Regions from separate parts of the Homo sapiens genome. Here regions 2, 3, 4 and 5 are each linked to region 1. The links are contacts of gene promoters, found by promoter capture Hi-C in blood cells and fetal thymus (Javierre and others, 2016). All regions are on one chromosome and are shown on one strand. The core of a region is centred on a gene start or on the middle of the fragment in contact, and the rest is flanking DNA. Distances in the headings are between cores, read along the strand shown.

The links. Contacts are between HindIII fragments. The CHiCAGO score rates a contact against its expected background, and 5 or more counts as called.
Region 2: a contact is called between a fragment that was not itself captured here and the fragment with the promoter of STXBP6 in region 1, in 2 of 17 cell types (M1 macrophages and M2 macrophages). The highest score is 5.9, in M1 macrophages.
Region 3: a fragment that was not itself captured here is called in contact with the fragment with the promoter of STXBP6 in region 1 in 2 of 17 cell types (M2 macrophages and monocytes); the score reaches 5.8 in M2 macrophages.
Region 4: a contact is called between a fragment that was not itself captured here and the fragment with the promoter of STXBP6 in region 1, in 1 of 17 cell types (erythroblasts). The highest score is 5.7, in erythroblasts.
Region 5: a contact is called between a fragment that was not itself captured here and the fragment with the promoter of STXBP6 in region 1, in 3 of 17 cell types (M2 macrophages, monocytes and M0 macrophages). The highest score is 6.6, in M2 macrophages.

What each region holds. Positions count from the first base shown.
Region 1 is chr14:25,048,848-25,051,482 of GRCh38, forward strand. STXBP6 (syntaxin binding protein 6) reads right to left here and starts at 1,300. Exons shown (of 6, transcript NM_001394410.1): 1 at 1,031-1,300. It overlaps LOC124903295 (a long non-coding RNA gene), which reads left to right and starts at 1,497. Exons shown (of 2, transcript XR_007064091.1): 1 at 1,497-1,587. The HindIII fragment of the contact is 7,485 bases long and covers 1-2,635 here.
Region 2 is chr14:24,934,714-24,937,348 of GRCh38, forward strand. All of the region lies in intron 2 of STXBP6 (syntaxin binding protein 6), which reads right to left. Among named protein-coding and RNA genes, the nearest start is that of STXBP6, 110 kb to the right of the region's middle. The HindIII fragment of the contact is 3,446 bases long and covers 1-2,635 here.
Region 3 is chr14:25,148,939-25,151,573 of GRCh38, forward strand. The region is part of intron 2 of LINC02286 (long intergenic non-protein coding RNA 2286); the gene reads right to left. Among named protein-coding and RNA genes, the nearest start is that of LINC02286, 6.0 kb to the right of the region's middle. The HindIII fragment of the contact is 2,305 bases long and covers 186-2,490 here.
Region 4 is chr14:24,951,269-24,953,903 of GRCh38, forward strand. The region is part of intron 2 of STXBP6 (syntaxin binding protein 6); the gene reads right to left. Among named protein-coding and RNA genes, the nearest start is that of STXBP6, 98 kb to the right of the region's middle. The HindIII fragment of the contact is 546 bases long and covers 1,056-1,601 here.
Region 5 is chr14:25,129,786-25,132,420 of GRCh38, forward strand. The region is part of intron 3 of LINC02286 (long intergenic non-protein coding RNA 2286); the gene reads right to left. Among named protein-coding and RNA genes, the nearest start is that of LINC02286, 25 kb to the right of the region's middle. The HindIII fragment of the contact is 1,209 bases long and covers 743-1,951 here.

The DNA.
Region 1 (2,635 bases), core at 50-2,549:
GGCATCCTCCACAGCCTTACAATCCGCACAATGCCAGTTCCAGGGTCCTGGGGTCGCCCGGAAGGCAATCTTAGGAGAGGGTGGAATGAGATGGAAGTTCCTGCGGACCTACCGATCCTATTCTCTCCCACCCAGTCCCTAGGGAAGCGTAATAGGAAGGGGAGAAGGTTCGTTATGAAATCCTGGGGCCAGAACCAAGGGCAGATACACCCCGGGGACTTTCTCCTAAAGAACAAGATGTCTTTCCAAATTCTCCACCTGCAGGTCCTGTCCTCTGTGAAGATGAACGGGGTGGGGTGGTGAGGTGGCGGGGTGTTGTAAACCTGAGGAAAGGTTGGAGGGAAAATCAAGCCACCCACCTACTCCAGCCACGTTGCCCGGCGGTGTTGGTGAGGCTCGATGCCGGCGTGCACGGCAAGCGCGAATTCGGAACCTGGCGCCCTTGACCAAGCCTGAGATCGGAAAGGGGGCATCGCCCAGGGCCAGCGCCCTGGGGGCAGGGTGCCGTGCCCGCCAGAAAAGCTCGCCTCAGTTTTGGCAGTAATGATTTTCCTAGAAGATGCCAGAGTTCGCGAAGATCGGAGTGATTCGCGGATTTCTGCGCTCAAGCTAGAGGCGCAGCGACCCCGAGCTCCCCCACACTGGGAGCCTCGGGGCAGCATTCTCGGGGCCCATGCCATCGCGGGGACGGTGCGGAAAAAAAGGCTCCATCCTCAACTTTCTCGGAGGAAATCGCTCCGTTCTGCGGCTTGCCCAATACTGCCCGCACAACGGGTCCCAGGGTTGGAGAGAACCAGGGACACGAGTCCCTCTCTGCGCGCACAAAGCAGCTGCGCCGGGGCGCGCGGCCCCCTCTCCCGCCACCCGCCAACTTGGAAGAATCTCTCTGGGAGCCTGCCTACTCCCCTGGCCTCACAGCCACCCGCCTCGGACGGAGCGCCAGGCGCCCCAACAGCCGTGGCGGCTGCAACCGCATCTCCCGGGCTTGGCCTCCGCCCTGACCGCCTGGCTCCCCTCGCCCCGGTCCTACCGTGCAGCCTGGCTCGCGCCCCTGCCGTGCCAGTGCGCGGCACGCGTCCCAGAGCACGAGGCTCCTCCCCGGGGGGCTGCCCCGCGCGGGGCTCCGGGCTCCGGACAAGGCTTAGCCGGCCCGGGTGCTGGCTCGCCGCCGCTCGCGGCTCCCGCGCCGGCTCCTGCTGCCGCGCGCGAAAAGGGAGGGGTTGGGGGGAAACTCCCGGCAACTCCAACTCCGGGCGCTGGAGCTCCAGCTGCAGCCGCGCGCCCGCCCGCCGCCGAGTGCGAGCGCCTGCGAAGCAAACCTGCCCGCGCGGCCGCCTCTGAGCATGCTCAGTGCCGCCGTGGGCGAGCCCGAGCGCCCTGGCCCGGGGCAAAGAGCAGCGGCTAGGGGCTGGGGGCTGGGGGCCGGGACCCGCGACCCGCCCCAGGCCTCGGAGCGCGGAGGTGGCAGAGGAAGGGAAAGGCCAATGTAGGGGCGGGGGCCCTGAGCCAAAGACCCGGGAGAAACCGATCTGGGTGCAAGAGCCGGTGCGACTTTCACGGCTTGTGGGAAGTTTGTGGGCTAGAAAGGTGGGCTGCTTCTGTGAGCTTCTCTGTGAGACTATATTCGAAAGGACAACCAGGAAACATTTTTTTTTTTCTCTAGGAAAAAACGAATAGACCCAGCCGATGGGTTTTTATCCTGTGCGCTCCTTCCTTTATTCTTACGATAGCAAACTCAAAGATCTAATGGGGCCTGACAGGCACTGTAACTGGGGGAAGGCGAACTGGAGAGAGCTCCGAAGGCAGGGCCGCTTATCTGCTCTCAGGGTCCCTTGCTATCGGGCAAGAATTAGACCTAGTGTTGCTAGATTTTCTGATTTTTCCAGAAATGACGGAGTATATTCATGTACAATATCCTGATTTGTAAAATCTTGATAACAAATTCAATTTTCTCAAAACACCCTGGACTAAACAAAACATATCTGCGTCCCCTCCCTGCTGAACCCCCCAGACAGTGATTTGAGCATTGTGATTCTGCACTCTTTTAGCGAAGTGGTGCTGAGTGCTCACTGTGGTTTGGGAAAGTGCTGGAAAGGATCCAAGATGATTCAGAATATCTTCGAAGTACTACTAGTTACTAGGGGAAATGGGTTTTCCTGACAGTAGAGCGCTACACTTAAATGCTGGAGCGTTCAAGAAGAAAGACGTTACTAATGTAGAAAGCGGTTGTAAGAACTAACTTTTGGGAAACATCATTAGTAAAAGTATCTGTGTGGGGAGTCACTGCAGGGCCGATAACAGTGCCCCGGAAGGCACTTTTGAGCCTGAAGCAATAGGAAAAACCCCTAAACTTACCCTGTCTTTATTTAAAATTTTGTTATTTTTCATCATGCATTTTTGATATTAATTTTGATTTTTTTAAATATTCCATTAAAATATTAACCTTGATTACTGAATTCTTTGGTGAACCTTTAAGTGCTGTGACTCACCTCACCCTAGCCTGGCCCTGTTGGGGTGTTAGATGGTGGTACACAGACCTGCTTGTTTGGAGTGCAAGGGGTAAGCATTAGCATAGTGAAATAGGAAAGAGGGTTTGAGCTGTGGATGGGGGCTCAGGCAGAAGTCCTGACTGTCA
Region 2 (2,635 bases), core at 98-2,597, 110 kb before region 1:
AGTAAAAATAATACAACTAATAAAAGCCAAGGGGCATAGGAGGAAAAATAAGAAGTATAATAATTTGTTTATAAAATCAATAAAGTCACTCTCTAAAACAAAATTCCTAAGAATTTTGTTGTTAGGAGGTCAGAGGCAAACTGACCTCTGATAGAGAACACCAAAAGACACATTTTAAGAACCTTAAGTGATATTAATACTCTTTTTAAAAAAAATCTCAAAAAATACTTGATTTACTTTACATTTATAACATTAATGCATCTCACAGAGTTCCTTAGGTCTCCTGGAGCAATGGGATGGTGGAAGAGGGGAATACGAAACGAAGGTACAGAAAACCTCTAAAAGAGACTGATCTTCCCACAGAGAAATGTGCACCATCTAGAAATGTATTTTATAAAAATTAGTATTGCACTATAGCACTGAATTAAAATCCTTTAGTAAATATGAAAAAGCAGCAAGGGCAAATGTGGGATCATTAGATACACTCAGCTTCTCATAACAATAAGCCACAGTTAATCCTGCAGGGCCTCTTATGTGCAAATAGGTTTTGCTAGACAACATTTATAATATAGGAATCTCCAAATTATAGAAAGAAACAAATTTGAGGCAATGAAGGAAAAGCTAGAAAATAAAGTTGAGAGTGAAGTTAAGAGAAGTGTCAAAACAAACAAAAGAAAAAGAGATAAAAAGCAACATCCGTCCCCTGACCAAATAAATCCATATATATGATTCATGTGAAAAGGCTCAGCAAGAAGTAAGAAAGAGCCAAACTAAGTCAAAACAAGTAAGAATAATCTAAATTTCAAAAGGAAGAAAAACATCTCCATGTTGTGGAGATATGTGTGGTGAAGTTTCAAAAGGATGATTGATATTAATAAGATGGGGTTATATGGGCTTTGCATACAATATAACAGTATTTTCTAAAAACATCTAAGAGGAAATGTGTCTGCAAAGAGTATAAAATGTCTACTTTCGAACACACTTGTTATTTCAGATTATATGACACTAAAATACAATTATACTAGATTGCTTTTTCTTTGACTTCTTTTATTGAAATCCAAGATAAGCCAACATGACTCCACCTAGAAAGTCTTTCTTCTCAGATGTAGCACTGCTCTTGGAAATAATCTTTTCCTGATGAACACATACTAACAACTTAACATCCATGCACAGACCAGACAGAGACAATTTGGCAACTCTCTTTCATATCTCCTTTCACAGGAGAGATCTAGCCCAAGAATCCAAAACAAACGAGAGAAATATGAGAATGTGTGTAGAATCACAAAGCACATGTGACTCTTCCTTGACTTAACAGTATAACTTTAGGTTGGCTAGAACCAGATGTCTTTGAACTTGGCTTATTTTTTGTGTCTGTAGCAGGTTTTTGTGTCTGTGGTTCCACTGACTAGAGCCCTGTGTTAGATCAGAGTTAAACTTTACAGCCATTTGAGAGTCTACTGGCTTGCTTTGCTCCATTAGTCCCAGACTCTACTTGAACACTTGCTGTTTGCTTTTCAACACTGTTGTTTCCTGCTCCCCCTCCTCCTCACATATGGATCACAGGCCAGAAACAAAACAAAACAAAAAACAAAACAAAACAAAAAACCCTACTGTCATTGGATGCACCAAAACCAGGTTGGCATGCTCTTTGGATGCTGAGTAATGCCACCTTCAGATAGAAGAGGTCACTAGTTTGAAGAAAGGAGGAGAAATGGAAAATATACACATAGGAAGAATGTGAAGAAAGAAATCTCTTCACTTTGCAAATAAATCTATTCTTACAGATTAGATTTGTAAAGAATCTTATAGATTAGATTTAATCATATCCAAGTCATCACTGATTGTCAAAAGGTACTATTATTTATGTAACAGGCACTATTATTTGTGTAACAGTAAATAAGTAAAGAGACCCATGAGGAATTGCCACACCGTCTTCCACAATGGTTGAACTAATTTACACTCCCACCAACAGTGTAAAAGTGTTCCTATTTCTCTACATCCTCTCCAACATCTGTTGTTTCCTGACTTTTTAATGATTACCATTCTAACTGGCGTGAGAGCAATCCCATTACTGAGTATATACCCAAAGGATTAGAAATCATTCTATGATAAAGACACATGCACACATATGTTTATTTCAGCACTATTCACAATAGCAAAGACTTGGAACCAACCCAAATATCCATCAATGATAGACTGGAAAAAGAAAATGTGGCACATATGCACCATGGAATACTATGCAGCCATAAAAAAGAATGAGTTCATGTCCTTTACAGGCACATGGATGAAGCTGGAAACCTTCATTCTCAGCAAACTAACACAAGAACAGACAATCAAACACTACATGTTCTCACTCATAAGTGGGAGTTGAACAATGAGAACACATGGACACAGGGAGGGGAACATCACACACCAGGGCCTGTCGGCGGGTGAGGGTGGAGGGAGGCATAGCACTAGGAGAAATACCTAATGTAGGTGACAAGTTGATGCGTGCAGCAAACCACCATGGCACATGTATACCCATGTAACAAACCTGCACGTTCTGCACACGTACCCCAGAATTTAAAATATAATTTAAAAAAAAGTAAAGAGACTACCAATTAAACCACGACACACTTTTTAAACACATGCTTTT
Region 3 (2,635 bases), core at 88-2,587, 100 kb after region 1:
CCAGGCTGGGGTGCAGCCTTGACTTCCTACACTCAAGCCATCCTCCCACCTCAGCCTCCTGAGTAGCTGGTACCACAGGCACATGCCATAATGCCTGGCTAATCTTTTGTACTTTTCTTTAGAGATGAGGTTTCACCATGTTGCTCAGGCTAATACTTTTTGAGTTAATTTTAATTTGATGTTGAAGCTTAGGGCCACGTTCATCTTTTTGGCTTACGGATGTCCAATTGTTTCAGCACCATTGTTGAAAAGTTATCGTTCCTCCATTGAATTGTTTTTGCACCTTTGTGAAAAAGTAACTGCACATATTTGTATGGGTCTATTTTGGGTTCTCCATTCTGCTCCATCAATGTATGTGTCTATTTTATCACCATGTAGCCTTGATTACTGTAGCTATATAATTTGAAATCAAGTAGAGTAATTCTTCTTGCTTTATTCTTTATCAAAATGGTTGTAGCTATTCTAGTTCCTTTGCCTTTCCATATACATTTTACCATAATCTTGTCTACATCTACAAATTCTCTTGCTGGAATTTTGATAGAAATTACATTTGACCTGTATATTGAGAAGGCTGTGAGTTAGGTTAGCAATTTGCAGAATCAATTTCCCTGTAACCATCTCCATTGTTTATTTGCATATATTAATATTCATTGACACACAAGCCAGTGTGTGCCTGTGTGTGCATGCATGTGTGTATGTAAAGAAAAAAGGGGGAGGGAGGAACTTCTTCCTTCTCCTGATTTGGTGTCATATGAGGTATAAGCAGCTCAGTGAGGGTTTGGGGCACAGGTGAAAAATCTACCAAATAAAATCTTTAGATACAACCATTAAGATGTGACCAATTTGGTTGAGGTATTTTGATGCAGGCCATTTAAAACACAGTATCACTGTTGTATTGCCAACTTATATTAGTAACGAATATCCCTGTGTCATTTCTAACCCCCATTCAAATCATGGAGGATTTTCATATTCAGTTGTGTTTATTTTTGTATTGGCCCACATTTTTGTCCTATGTATAAAGTTTAAAATTAATTTTTAAAAAATTTGAATAGGCAATGGATATATTCAAAATTTAAAAAATGTAATACATCATATAATACAATCACAAAAACATCAAAACAATATATGAAGAAGCAAACCTTATATTCTTATAGCCACACTATCCATATCCATTTAATTCTACCCCGCCCCCAACAGGTAACCACTTTTTAATTTGTTTATCATTCCAGGGAATAACCCGCATATATGTTTACATATACACTTAGAGTATTTACTTCAAAACACTATCATTAAAAATGTAAATAAATTTTGACTTTTTATTACTTTGTCTGACAGTAAATATGGTCTATGATCTCAGTTTGTTCCATTTTTAAAAAACACAATTTGTAATAATGTATCTTGAGAGTGAATACCCTCATTTGTAAAATTTTTGTTAAAACTTAAATCTTGGCAAGTTTTCCCCTCACTTTCTTACCTTTTATGTAACAATATTGTTAGATAAATCTGTTTAATTTTAAGGCCTGAAGATTCTTTATAAATCATGTAATCTTACTCAAGACATTTTGAGATCAGGAGAAGAGAAGGAGTGTGTTCAGGACCACAGGGTCAATTTGTGGCAGAGCTGGGAGTGGAACAGAGGCCCAGTCCAGAGCTGCCCTCTGCCCACACTCCTGAATACACCCATTGCTGTGAGATGACTCAGATTTATTGTTACCATGGCTGAAATCCATTGGAAAAATGTTTCTGCCATTCATCTCAATCCTCTGCTAGTCATGTGGTTTATCCTTTATAAATGAGGATTTCTTCTTTTTTGTTGACAGTTTCATGATTTTAGTTGTTTCTGCTCTCTTAACATTTGCCCAGTTCAATGATTAATCCTCTGATCTGAGCCCACTTAGACTGGAGTAATATCTTGCCAATGAGAATGAGCAAGTGAATAATTGAAATTTTTATTAAGGATGAAATTTCTTTACTATGTTATATTTATTATATATATGATAGTTTCAACTTTCTGAGTCTCTCTTGTCAAATGCATTCTTTCTCATTATCTCCTTTATAAAATGTTTAATTTAAATGGTCAGTCTTCTGTTCTTATGCAGGAGAATGTCAGCCTGATCCTCAACCAATTAATACCACGTTTCAAGTTGGGTTTGACTTCTACTAACGTAGTAGTCTGACCCCTAGTGGTTATAAGAAACATCTGCACGGCTTGTAAGCAAATTTTGACTGAATTTTCTGAAAAGTGAATATCGGACAATGAATTTCTCCTTGAAAATAAATAAAATAAAAATAAGAGAAGAATTTTGAGTCCATAGAAAAAATAATAGGGAAGTTCAGGTAAAATCATGTTTCTATAAAAATAATTTCAAATCGGTATTTTTACTGATTTTTTAGTATTATGTGATCAGGCTGCACTTATGTAACACATTTATGGTGAACATAACACACTTATGTTCCAGGAATTCATTCTATGTTATTTATTGGAAACAAAGCTTGTTTGCCCCCAAAATTAATGTTTTGTCATTGTCCCAGCATGCCCTTTCTAGTCTGCGTAGAATTGGGATCAAACTTAGAGCTGGATGACATTTTTGTGGTCTGAAGATCAGAGAGCCAGAAAGGACTGGCCACAAAGTGA
Region 4 (2,635 bases), core at 79-2,578, 98 kb before region 1:
TGGGTCAAATGGTATTTCTAGTTCTAGATCCTTAAGGAATTGCCACACTGTCTTCCACAATGGTTGGACTAATTAACACTCCCACCAACAGTGTAAAAGCGTTCCTATTTCTCCACATCCTCTCCGGACTTTTTAATGAGCGTCATTCTAACTGGCAAGAGATGGCATCTCATTGTGGTTTTGATTTGCATTTCTCTAATGACCAGTGATGATGAGCTTTTTTTCATGTTTGTTGGCAGCATAAATGTCTTCTTTTGAGAAATGTCTGTTCATGTCCTTTGCCCACTTTTTGATGGGGTTGATACACAACTTCTAAAGTGCATGTTTACTTGAAAAATATATTCTCTTACATAGCCCTGAATGCCAAGCAACTCTATTATATTACATGGCTTTACTGTATAATTTTTGGTCATTCTTCATTTAAAAAATTTCTTATGTGATGGAAAAATGTCAAGTTACATAATTATATATTTATATTTCTTTTTGTACAATAGCCAAACTGTTCAAACAGACAGTAAGTTCTTTGCTGTATTTTCACTATTTTAATCCTTCTGGTGTATAAAATGTGTTTCATCCTTTTAAATAAAATATATTTGAAAAACAATTTTTATACTTTCTTTGAATTTACATCTATGAAATATAAATACACATCAGGCAATTGGGAAAGCTAAAACCCAAGTAATATTTGATATTAAGGGATTTATTGTTGTGATACTGGTATTTTGATTGTGTTTTTAGCACATATTTAAAATACTTATATATATAATATACACATATAAAAATATTAAAGAATGAAATGATATAATTTACATAAAAATAATCCAGTGAGAGGCAGTGGATGGGAAATAAATACAATATGACTGTCCAATAGAGCTAGTTACATGGGGATTCATGATATTATTCTCTTTACTGTTACATATTTGTAATTTTTAATAAAAATATTTAAAAATAATAATTACTTAGAAAATTCCATTAAGACAAATAAGCTTATTTCAGGCTGCTCTGCTTAGGGGGTAGCCATTCTTTATCCCTTAAAAAAAAAAAAAAGACAAATAAGCTTATTTCAAACTTACTTAAATGCACGTAGTTAATCTGTCGGCATGAATACAGTTATCAAATATTCACCTATCAATAGCATAGATTTTGTTCTAAACCTCCACAAAGGTCATTGCTAAATTTTGCCCAAATGTAAAACTGAGGAGTATTAATCTAAAATGTCATTTTGTACCTTTCTGAGTTTTTCTAGATAAAACTAAATTTTTGAAGGGGCAGAATTATAGCCATTCATTCTCTGCAATCAGCATTTAATACTCTTAATCATACAAATTTGACCCCAACTCCACAGTTAAAACTCTCTTTGTCATTACAACAAAACTCCGTGTTGAAAGAATTTAAAGTATTGTTATACAAGGAAAAAATAGCACAGTAGGTAGCACAGTAGGAATCAGAAAAACACCTTATCTCACTCAGCATTAGGGAAAAAAGGTACGTTGTTTTCCCTCTTGATTTATTTAATGCTGTCCATAAATTTCATCAAATAAGTAAAAACAAAAGATGTGACCAGAGGGCATTCCAACTCAGAGGAGGAAACCATACCAGGAAGCTTTTGAGAGTAAGATATCCCCAACCATACTTTATTTCTTCATATATTCATGAGCATATGCAAATGCTCAATACAAAGACATGTTCCTGCTCACATTTCTATTGTGTTTCTGATGGGGAGCATGAGGGTGAGAATGATGTCTTCTATACTTTCTACAGCATTCCTTTTTGTCTAAAGGAGGCCAGAAGGCCACACTCCATCTGGAGGCACTAGGAGAGAATCAGTTCCTTGCCCCTTCCCACTTCTGATAGCTGCCAACACTCCTTGACTCATGGCGACATCACCCCAATCTCTGCCTCCATATTCACATCGCTTTCTTCCCTGTGTGTCTCATCTCCCTTTGTGTCACTTGTATAAAGACACATGTGATGGCATGTAGGCGCAGCAGGATGACGATCCAGGGTAACCTCAGCTGAAAATCCTTAGTTACATCCACAAAGACCCTTTTTCCAAATATGGTGAACTTCACAGGTTGCCAGGATGAGGATGTAAACCTATCTTTGAGAGCCATTATCAGCCTCCCTCAACATCACTCTCTGTTTGCTGAGCTGCAGTCACACTGGCCTTCTTTGTGTTCCTCCAAGTTGTCACGCTTCCTTCTGCCACAGGGAGCAGTGCTTCCTCTGACAGTGGCTACCCTTTCCTGCTGCTCCCACGCTTTCCGCATGTCCCCAGGAAACTCTTTTTCAACCCTCATATCCCAGTTTGTCACTCGCTTTCTACTGAAAACACCAAGTTCTTTTGTTCTATGTTTTCTTTCATAGAAATCAACTCAGTATTTCATAGCTGATTAATTTCTCTCTCTCTAAATCCCATGAAAACAGTTGATTATCTTAATTTTTGTCCACAGTAAGATCTCAACAAAGATTTTTATAAATAAACAAAAAACTATCTCAGGCTAAATGGTGGACATAATTAGAATTCTAAGCTGGTGGCCAGTTGAGAATTACTGATACTAATAGCAGAGGCCAGCATCTTCTTCAAAATGGGCATAGAAGAGACCAAGAGCGTGAAGCCACGGAGTGCATAAGA
Region 5 (2,635 bases), core at 97-2,596, 81 kb after region 1:
AAGACTCTCTCTCTCTCTCTTTTTCTCTCATTGTGGAATGATTATTAAATGATGATTACTCTATATAGTACTATATATATATAGTCATATATATATATTCATATATATATAGTCATATATATATATACACACACACACACATATATATAAAGTCAGAAAACTCCACAGACATTAGACCTCATAAGGCAAGTCACTCTGTGCTTACACATCCCAAATGTTTTGTTCTTCGGAGCCTTTTTAAGAATGGAAGGAAAATAAAAAATGCAAGAACTTTTTATGATTATTTATTGTGCCACTGCTAATTTGAAGCCTGCCACTCATAACAAGGGGAATGATGATTACTATATATATAGAAATATATAGTAATATATTCTATATATATGAAATATATAGTAATATATTCTATATATATGAAATATATAGAATATATTCTATATATAGTAATCTTATTCTATATATAGTAATATATAATAAGATTACTATATATAGAAATATACAGTAATATTTTTATATATATTTTAATATCTAGTAATATATATTACTATATATGTTATATGTAAAACAATATATACTATATATAGACATAGTAACATATATTACTATATATACTATATATAGACATGTCTATATATAGTATATATTGTTTTATATATACTATATTATGTATGCTATATAATATAATAAAATATATAATATGCTATAATATATAACATTATATAATATATATCTCAAAGGATGGTTAAGCTTTCAAAAGGCAGGGATAAAATAAGGGGCAATTTAGGAAAATAGGAATATATAGTATATTATGTATAAACAATATATACGATATATTATCGTATATATTATGTACGATATATTATCGTATATATTAAATACTATATATTATTGTATATAATATATACTATATATAAATGTATATGATGATATCTATATTACTATATATTTCTATGTATATAGTACTATATGTATAGTAATCATCATTCCCCATGTTATGAGTGGCAGGCTTCAAATTAGCAGCGGTACAATAAATGATCATAAAAGGCTCTTGCATTTTTTATTTTCTTCCATTCTTAAAAAGGCTCCAAAGAACAAAACATTTGGCATGTGTAAACACACAGTGACTTGCCTTATGAGGTCTAATGTCTGTGGAGTTCTCTGATTACCATCAAGAAAAGCAGAAGGAAAAACATTGGTTCAGGATCATTTCTACTTATCCTTTTCTTTCCAGGTAAAAGAAATCTTTACCTGGGTCTAGACCAGCAAAAGCTCTTTGAAGCAGGAGATACACATCACTGGGTACGGCTGGTTCTCAAACATGCACTTGATTTTATTCACAAGTCTTACAAATCATCACATGCCCAAAGAAACACCTAGGTGAACTAAAGTTCTGATTTTATACACTCACTGCCACCTGTCACTCACAGCCTGCAAGTCTCTGTGCCAATGTCAGAAGCTGGAAATATATTATGATGGTTAAGATCAGTGCTCCTTATCAGTCATTTTCTAGTGGATTGTAAGTTGCTCATGTGGCAAAGTTAACCTCTTAGGAAGAAGGGGTAGATGGAGAACAATAGAAGAGGTGGAACTAAGTTCTGGGGTACTCCAGCATCAAGAGATTGAGGAGAGGGAACTGGGATCAGTTGGATGTCAGGAAAGCAAAGCAAGAGTGTCATCATGGGAACCAAGAGAAGAGAGAGTGATCAGCTCTATGAAATGACACCCCCATTTTTACATCCCCCAATTCCCCATTTATCTTTCTCAGCTGCAAACATGGATGATTTTCTTCTATGCCGTGAGGTCACTGAACGTATAAGTAGAAATTCCTAGCTCTCAGAACCATTTGGGACTTTTGCAACCTATACAAAACTTCAGTATCCTCCTTTTTTTCCTATTTTATATTTTCTCTTTTGAATTTAATCCTCATGCGATTAGAGTACGCTAAAAGGGACCAAGCTTAGATTAGCAGAAGAATTTTACTAAAGGTTCAAGTATGCGTTTGGCAATGAAATTCCATCCAGTATGTATTTACTAAATGCTTACTAAGTATAAGATGCTATTCTCAATGCTGTAGAAAAAAAATTAAAATTCTATGTTCACTGAAGTCAACATCTCAAATGTTGGCAATGTAGGAATGAAATTATCTTAAAAGAGATAATGCATAATTTGCTGTGGAAGTACAAAGGAGGAAGAGATCACATTCAGCGGGAGGGATTATAAAAAACCTGGAGGAGGATTTAGTGTGTGGGTGGACCTCAAAGGGTTGTTAAGCTTTCAAAAGGCAGGGATAAAATAAGGGGCAATTTAGGAAAATAGGAACAACATGAGCAAAGGCACAGAGATGGGAAACTATAGCTTGTTTTTGGAGAAATGGTCATAGTTAAATTTAGCTGAAGCATAAAGATATGTATGTAAAAAAGAAGTGAGTAAGACTGAAGAAGTGATGGCATATGTCAGAGAGTCCTGGGTAGAGAGGCAGTGAGGCAGGGAGGTGGGGAGGCCACATGGTGAACTGCAAAGAGCATGTGCTTCCCAGCCAGAGATGGGTTAGAAATCAAGGATCTCCCCAAAATATTAGTTCTGCAATAGGATTGTCAAATCATGTCTCCAATCTATAATTTTTCTAATACAAAAGACA